2 separate regions of the Homo sapiens genome follow, and region 1 is linked to region 2. The links are contacts of gene promoters, found by promoter capture Hi-C in blood cells and fetal thymus (Javierre and others, 2016). All regions are on one chromosome and are shown on one strand. The core of a region is centred on a gene start or on the middle of the fragment in contact, and the rest is flanking DNA. Distances in the headings are between cores, read along the strand shown.

Region 1 (4,356 bases), core at 1,280-3,779, 54 kb before region 2:
CCCTCAGAGAGCATTCATTCTGGTGAAAGAATTAAACAATAAAGAAATAAATACATATAAAAATATGTGTGGCGGTCATTGGAATGCTCCTTGTAGAACACCAGCAACATAATTGGCCAGGGGCCCCAGTTCTGCTGTATTCTGAACTCCACGATGCATTGGTGCAGAGGCTGCCTGCACAGGCCACTCATAGCTAATGACTGTGACAGTGCCACTAAGGTAGGCTGTTTCTAGGAAACACAGGACCCCTCTGAGGATGGCTGACTGGCTCAGGATCTCCCAACAGCCTTGCTGAATCTTCCTGAAATTGCATGACAGCCTAGAACACTTGTACGCATTTCCATTTTAGGCCTGCTGGCTCTCCCAGGCTTTCTTTTTTTTTAATTTTTAATTGTTGTGGGTACATAGTGGATATATATATCTCCAAGACATTCTTGATTCCCTCCCCATTTTCTTTCACACATGCATTTCTCCTAATAAAATTCTTGCATGTTTAATCCCATCTTGACATCTGCTTCTCAGAGGATCTGAACTAACACACATTAGGGAGTAATAAGTGCTGTAAAGAAAAATAAAAGCCCAATAAGGTATTAGAAGTGTGCTCTTTTAAATAAGGGTGGTCAGGAAAGGTCTTAGGAGGAGGTGATGTTTGAGCCATATAAGTAGTTGGAGAAAACTGTGATTTACAGAGTGAAGTAAATTGCTTGAGATTATTCATTGATTTGTGGTAAATCAGCATGTAAATTTGTTACTGTGAAGCTAGACTCTTTAAATAAAATTGCTTTAATATATTATTTGTGAGTGATGATAAATGTAATGAGAGTATCTATTTAGATAACAATCCACATCAAACAATTGTGTCTATGTAGACCAAAATTACTTTAAAAGAAGTGAATAAAAGGCTTCAGAAACCATAAAATAACGCAGTTAGCTTTTGTACAGCCTGAATTGTATTTCCTTCCAGCCTACTTCACTCTGGCCTTCCTTTCCCCCCTATCCACACCCCTTCTTTTATATTTATTTTGTTAGTGATGCAGCTTCTTTAATGAGCAATTTCAAAATAGGGAATGACATTTACTTTATATTTTTTTCCTTCTAACTTTCCAGTCCTGTTTCCTGAAACATCTCCACTGCCCTGAGTTGTCATTAAAATGTTTTTCAAAATATCACACAATGCAGGCTGGGCTTGGTGGTGCATGCCCGTAATCCCAACGCTTTGGGAAGCCTAGGTGGGAGGATCACTTGACCAGGCTGTGCAACATAGCAAGACCCTACCTTTAAAAAAAATTTTTAAATTAGCCAAGTGTGGTAGTGCATGCCTATAGTCCCAACTACTCAAGAGGCTGAGGCAAAAGGGTCACTTGAGCCTAGGAGTTTGAGCCTGCAGTGGTAAGCTATAACTGGGCCAGTGCACTCCATTCCAGCCTGAGTGACAGAATAAGAAACTGTCTCTTAAAAAAAAATTACATAATACAAAATGGCAAGCACATTCTTATTTTGATCTGAACTATAAGCTCTTTCAAATAGCTTTTTTTCTCTCTTTGCCCTTATGTACCAAATCTTCCCACTGAAATCACATTACATTGAGAAGTCAGGGTAAATTTATATCCAGGGTTGCAATCTAGCTCCTCCATTTAAGAAATTCAAATAAGAACCCCTACTTTTATTTAATAACATTTTAGTTTAAGCTGTTAAAATTCTTATACACTTTTACTTCCTTTTTTGTTAGTTCTGGAAAGTTTAACTTGTAAAAGGCATTATAATTTTTAAAAAATTATTTTATATATTTGCAGTGTGCTTTGATCAGTTAGTTTGAAATGGATTCCCTTTGCTTGTCTTTTGGTAAAAGCATGGCACTTTTCTGCCTTTCATAGAAAGTGAATGGCCCTTCTTCCTACAGAATAGAGTGTGGAGGGCAAAATTATTTTTCATAAGAAAAGGGACAAAGTAATACTTTTCTAAGCTTAATAAAAGACAGTTGTGGCTGAAAAACTGCAATTATGTCATGTAAGTTTTATCTTGCATAAGCAGCAGAGTGAAGAAATTCCAGAATTAATAAGCCTGCTGGTACAGCTGTGCCCTTAGTTGAAAAGTTCAGGGTGTTCTTTTCATACTCACGACTGGACATTTTGCTCCATATTAGCCTTTGCAAGATTAATTGGCTCCCTCCACTTCCAAGCTGCTAAAATATTTATAAATGGGTCTATTTATAGGATGTAAAATTTAAAGTAGATGCAATAAATGATCATTTTGACTAAAAATTTTGTCTATATTTGGCTTGATTTTGTAATAACCAATAATTAGTTATTTTTAATTGTCAAGTCCTCTTAAATATTGAGTTACGAGATGAAAAATAAAACGTTTGAGAAATGATGAAAGGAAGTGGAGAGTTAAAAGCCAAAGACAGTCTTTCTAACCATAGCTTTGGTTATTAATGTAGCTGTAGTTATCATCCAGGGGGCAGTTGGCAAGTTGATCATCAGTCCTGCCAATGATATTAGAAGAAATTGGCTTAAAATAGAAGATATAATTTCATGACCCAGAAGTCTATCGAACAGTATAATGAAATCTGAGAGAATTTCCTCTAATGTTTTAAAAAGTAGAAAATGTTTTCTTTTGAAGGAGTGGTTTTGGTATGTTATTAACTAGATGATTTCTTTCAGCCTTATGTCATGCATTTCTTAACTCTCTTTCTCCTGCTTTCCCACTCTTTCTCCTTAGAAAAGGAAGATTACATAGATCAAACAGGTGTACAATACTGAGCAGAAATGAGCAGGTTTAATCAGAGTGCACTTTTGTGTTTCTCCAATTTCAAAGTTAAATCTGCATACTGCTGTTTTATTTAGTTTGCTTTCAACACAGTCTGAAAGTTCAGTTTCTTTATGAATGCCTGTATAACTTTGGATAGTGACTCTAAAATTACTCAGTGAATAGATGTATTTGCTCAAAATTAAAATAACAGAGAATTTTTATTATTTTGTCTAAATACTTTAAGGCTGAACTCTATTCTTAGGAAAAGTTATGAACCATGTGTTCTTAGAGCATGTACTTTAGAGCCAGACTCACCAAGTTCTTCTAATTATGAGCTAAGCTTATTTCAAGTCACGTTAGTTCTCTGAGGCTCAGTCTTTTCAATATAAAATTGAGATTATTTGTAATGCCATCCTTACAGAATAATTATGAAAATGCAATATTAAATATATTAAATTGCCTTTATAAGGAAATGACTACAGTGTCTGACATTTAGTACTCCAGCAACAAATTTTTATTCTTTTACCTTTTTAAAAAATATTTTTTCTCCTTTTTTCCATATCTTATTTATACAAAAGCAGGTGGAAAAAATGTCGCGGTCTTTCTGTTGTTCTAAAGAGACTATCATATTTCTTTTGACTTTGAAAGATTTAGCTGTTTTTCAGGTTAATGGAAAACCCATTCAAAATTCCTTTTGAATTCTGAATTATGTAACAACCAGAGTGAAATGCTGGCCTTTCTAAAGGTGTCAGCTGAGCTAGAATTAATAGACACTTCCCAGAAAGAAAGAAATAAAATAGTGAACAGAGGGTTATTTTTTCTTTTTCTACCTAATCTTTTTAAAAAAATAAGTATCACTTAGGATTTTCCTTTTTTTCTTTTGAGACGGAGTCTTGCTCTGTCGCCCAGGCTGGAGTGCTGTGGCGTGATCTCAGCTCACTGCAAGCTCCGCCTCCCGGGTTCATGCCATTCTCCTGCGTCAGCCTCCAGAGTAGCTGGAACTACAGGCCTCGACCACCACGCCTGGCTAATTTTTTTGTATTTTTAGTAGAGACAGGGTTTCACCGTGCTAGCCAGGATGGTCTCAATCTCCTGACCTCGTGATCCGCCCACCTCGGCCTCCCAAAGTGCTGGGATTACAGGCGGAGCCACCGCACCTGGCCAGGATTTTCCTTTTTAAATTATCTTTTATGATACTGGGGAGTACTGTTCTGTAGCTAACATACTTAATTGCTGGCCTCTACTTTCAGTGGTTGGCAGAATAGGGACAGTGATCATATAGTTTATATTTGGAAATGGTTGAAATAATGCAAAAAGATTTCATTTTCATTAAAAATAATGACTCATTTCATGATGTTAATAAAGAATTAAACCATTTCATCAAAATGCATAATTAATATGCCTAATTTTTATTTTTTAAAGATTAAAATGAACAAAAAATGGCATGATGGGAGCCTCATTGATAGTTTATCACAGATGCCAACATTATCATTTTAAAACAGGTAAACACCAAAACTTATAAATAAAATTAAGATATCTTAAGACATCTTTAAAAATATACAAATTCTCTACAATAATATATATAAATATAATACTTTGTCATTG
Region 2 (4,581 bases), core at 550-3,049:
TCTTAGTTATGATTACATTGCGTGGGGAGCATCTAAAAGTCTTTGATTCTGTTCCTCTTGCTTTATGGAAGGTGTAATATGAAAACATTATGCTCAATACTCTTCCCGGGTCTCAAGCTTCTAGGTCTCAATATTGTAGTGGTGAAAGGCTGCATTCCTTGTCAATACAGGGGAAATAAGGAGGCATTCTGAAAATGCCACTAATATATCTGGAATGGCTCAAATCAGCTCCTAAGAGGACCTGAATATTTTTCTTAACATTTAAAACTGATGCTATACGTTGCTTATAAACAAAGTTGAATTTCCTTTATAAGAATCAAAATGCAAGTTATAAAGCATTGCTTTCTCAAGTTAGTTGCTAGAATTTAAAGAAAAGGAGAGAGTGAAATATTACCTTGCACGTAATATATATTAAAATTTTTTTGAGTCATATGCTTTGAGACTACAATAACTTTATATTTTCTCAGAAGTTACAAATAAAAGTAGACTTTGCACACAAAATATGTTAGTAAATCAATTAACAAATATGAAGGGTTAAATAAATAAGCAATAGAAATGGAGTTAAATAATAAGCAATAAATATGAATTCCAACTTAATAGCTTGATAAAAAAGATGATAGAACTTATTTTGAGTGATTTATATAATGTAAGGTAAAAGAAATCAAGCTAAACCATGTGGGATGGACAATAAAGACAAGATTGTATGAGACTTGTCCAGAAAAAAAAAAGAATCGAGAGTGATCTTAACTTATAATGTGGAAGGCAAGCCAAGCAGAATGTACATCAGCTGTCAGATTGCTTCATGCCTTTTACAGCAGTTGTTCCTCTGAAAATAGCTTCCAAATGAGAAAGGATGACTACAAAAGGATTAGTTACCATAGGCTTTTCTACACCCCCTAGAGCTCCAGGTTTGTTATGACAGAACAGCAAGAATCTAAAGGAAGTAAACTATGGAATATTAAACAACGTCAGGATGGAGCCACATTCATGCTGTGCTATATTAATGCTACGAAGGATTTTTATTGATACCATTTCCATGGACTTCCTTCATGATGGCTGTTGCTTGCTGTTTTCTCTGCTTCATCATAGTATTATGTGATAGCATGGTTTTTTTGTTCCCTGTTAAAAACAAAGGGACATTATTGAGGCAATGTGAAGAACTCATTTGGAGTGTCTTATAATCACTGTTTTGAAAGACAACATCTTTGTTCTTTATTAAAAAGTTATTATCGCTTGCTACTGAAAGACTTCAATACGCATTCCTTATCTGGTGACAGAGTATGTTATTCATTGACAGGCAATGTCACAGTGAACAGAGACCCAGTCTGGACATTAATACAATGATCATCAGGCAGTGAGAAACAATGAAATTGCTGGTCTCCTTTCCCCTCCCTCTCTTTTCTCCACAGTATTTTAGTCTGTCATTGTCTCCTCACTGGCCTTCATTTGTACCAGCATCACACTCCATCAATTCCAGCAAACTGTAAGAATGAAGAAGACACTAGACTAAACCAGAATTCTTTGGTGGTAGCATTTTAATATTGGCAACAGCTGCCCTTTAAAGCAGAGAATGCCCATTTATGAGTCACAACTCTGAATATCCTTGGACAACTGACTAATGAAACATTTTAGGAAACAACATACTCACCTTGCTGTTAGATTGTGCTTTTTCAGCGGGGATGAATCCCAGTTTGTGGAGGAAGACTCTGGAGATGGACTATGGATGGCACTTGGGCCTGATGGTTTTTATCCTTGAACCTGGGACAGCATGGTCCCTACTCTGACTCAAACTGGGGACTGAGCTTTTCTGAAGAGACTGGCATTCAGCTGACATCAACTGGCTATATATAGCACCAAATACTTTAGCTACTCATATCTTCCTGGCGAAAGGGAGGAACAGGGAAAGATTAGGCTCTCTCCATTGTGTTTCTAGTTTGTGAGATGGTTAAATGAAACGTTCATTGGACATGCAGAAAGTTTTTAGTGAGCACTTTCTGTTGAACAGATAGTAGCCAAAAGGGATTTTAAACACTTTTAAACATCTAGCTCTTATGTTACATGTTAATTGAGGTGGCAAGAGACACATGCATGAATCAGAACAGAATGATAGATTTTTCATAATTAAAATGAACAATATAGGCAGTAATATCTATGTAGACTCAAGAAGAAAGGAAGTAATGTGGGGTGGATCAATAGAGCCAGTTCTTAAGCTGTAGTGAGAACTCATGCTAGGTTGAGAAAAGTATGTAGTATTTGAATAGTGAACTCAGGAAGCATTTTGAAATGAACCATTAGAGGATAAGCCATGAAGCTGGGTAAAAGCTGAGACTCATAACTGGGTCATGCTTTTTGAAGGGCCTACAGAGACCAGTCCCTGCAAAGTTGACCAGTCTTTACAATGTCTAGGGTCAAGGATTTTCATTTGCAGGCCTGACAAGATTTGAAAGGTTTGCCTGTCAAAAGGTTTGGCCTCCTTGATGGTCCCTGGACACAAAAACGTGCTCTCATCTCTGGGCTTTTCCTTTTACTGTTTCCCCCTTTCCTTTTACTATTTCCCCCTTTCCCTGGTTGAAATGGTGTCCTCAACAGATAATCATTATGTTAATTTTGGTTTCCAAAATGAAAATAGATACTGTATTCCTTTTACTATTTCCCCCTTCCATACTTTCCCTCTACTCACATGGCACAGTCATGCATTCAGGACTCTGCTCAGATAACAATCCCTCATAAAATCCTTCCCTTATCACCTTGTCTAAAATATCACACTGTGCCACTCTCTAGTCCCTTACTCTGCTTCATTTTCTTTATATTTTTCTATTAGTTAAGATAAAAGTCAAATGGGAGTGACAGAAACCCCCCCAAAACAGAACTGTAAAAAGATGGAAGATGTTTCTCTCACAGGTAAGCTTAGTCTAGAAGTAAGTAATTGAGGGTTTGCATGACTGACATAATTATCAAGGGCTCAGTTACCCTCTAACTTTTTGCTCCACTATCCCTAAAATGCAGACCCCTTGGGCCTAATTGGCTGCCCCAGCTCCAGTCAGCATGCATATATTTCAACCAGCAGGAAAAAGAAAAAAAAATGAGAAGGGAACACTGTCTTCTTTTCAGAACATGTCTGATATTTTGTTCATACTTCTGTTTACATCCCATTGGGCAGAACTTAGCCATATAGCCGTACATAACTCAAGAAAGGTTGGGAAGTGTAGCTTCTATTCTAGGTGGTCATGAGCCCAATTAAAATTCATACATAACTTACTAACAAAGAAATAATTGTTGCTGAGTGACAACTCAGTTTTTTCACTAAGAACATGCCAACATTATTCTATCTATCTATCTATCTATCTATCTATCTATCTATCTATCTATCTATCTATCTAGCAAAAGTTTATGTTATGTACAATTCTAAAGGTTGAAATGGCGTCCTCAACAGTTTTACTAGCACCTGTAATCCCAGCTACTCTGAAGGCTGGGGTGGGAAGATTGCTTGAGTCCAGGAGGTAGAGGTTGCATCTATTTATGTGATATCTCTTTTTTCTACTAAACTATGAATCCTATAATGGCTTGGGCTTTGTATCTTCAGCAGTTGGAATTGTATCTGGCATATGGTAAGCACTCAATATTCATTGAATGAATGAATAAATGAGTAGGTTGGAGATTAACTGCAGAATGCATTAAAGGTTTGGCATGAGTTTGGAATTCAAATGAACAGTCGCTTGAATGTACAAAGGTGGTGGCTATTTGTGGGAGGAATTGTATTTTATAAGATTGAAATCGGTTATACATTTTGGTGCCTGATCATAGGATTGAAAGTTTAAGGTTGTAAATCACAGCACTTTGGGAGGCCAAGGTGGGTGGATCGCTTGAGCCCAGGAGTTTGAGACCAGCCTAGGCCAGCTAGCAAAACTCTGCCTCTACCAAAAAAGCAAAAACAAAAACAAAAAACCCAAAAATTAGCCAGGTGAGTGGCATGCACCTATAATCTCAGCTACTCCAAAGGCTGGGGTGGGAAGATTGCTTGAGTCCAGGAGGTAGAGTTTGCAGTAATCCATGATCAAGCCACCGCACTCCAGCCCGGGCAAGACCAGACCTTGTTTAAAAAAAAAAAAAAAGAGAAAGCTAAAGGTTGTAGATAGCAGGTTTAAGCTAATCTAGCTAACCTATTGCAATTGTTTCTAAACAAACCATTTGCATTGAAAGTATAATTAGGTATCAAATGAGAAACAATTTTGCCAAAGCAAATAAATTTAAATTCCCTCTCAAAATCCCTTGAGTGCCCGTATGTTCCTGGCTGTAGCCTTTACCATAGTATGCTATTAGACAAGTCTTTTAAACTCTGTTTTCTCATCTGTAAAATGGTGATTACAGTATCTATCACATAAAGTCATGGACATTTTACATGGGACAATTTAGAAATTCCTTATACTTAGTAAAAATTTAATAAATGATTTTTTTCCTTTTGCTATTATTATTTCTGCAATATGGTAGGATTTAGAATTTTAGAGTAATCAACTGCATTATTCAGTTAAAAAAACCAAAGATTAAGAGAGTTCTGGTTTTCCTATTTGATCATCTTCATAT

What was found. The method cuts DNA at HindIII sites, captures the fragments that hold promoters and counts their contacts. A CHiCAGO score of 5 or more calls a contact.
Region 1: a contact is called between a fragment that was not itself captured here and the fragment with the promoter of MYOZ2 in region 2, in 3 of 17 cell types (M0 macrophages, endothelial precursors and M2 macrophages). The highest score is 6.5, in M0 macrophages.

Annotation. Positions count from the first base shown.
Region 1 is chr4:119,187,571-119,191,926 of GRCh38, reverse strand. MYOZ2 (myozenin 2) reads right to left here. Exons shown (of 6, transcript NM_016599.5): 6 at 4,138-4,356. Among named protein-coding and RNA genes, the nearest start is that of USP53, 23 kb to the left of the region's middle. The HindIII fragment of the contact is 1,128 bases long and covers 1,966-3,093 here.
Region 2 is chr4:119,133,050-119,137,630 of GRCh38, reverse strand. MYOZ2 (myozenin 2) reads right to left here and starts at 1,799. Exons shown (of 6, transcript NM_016599.5): 1 at 1,649-1,799; 2 at 1,030-1,119. The coding sequence starts at 1,105. LOC102723967 (a long non-coding RNA gene) reads right to left here. Exons shown (of 3, transcript XR_001741422.1): 3 at 4,077-4,581. The HindIII fragment of the contact is 2,789 bases long and covers 120-2,908 here.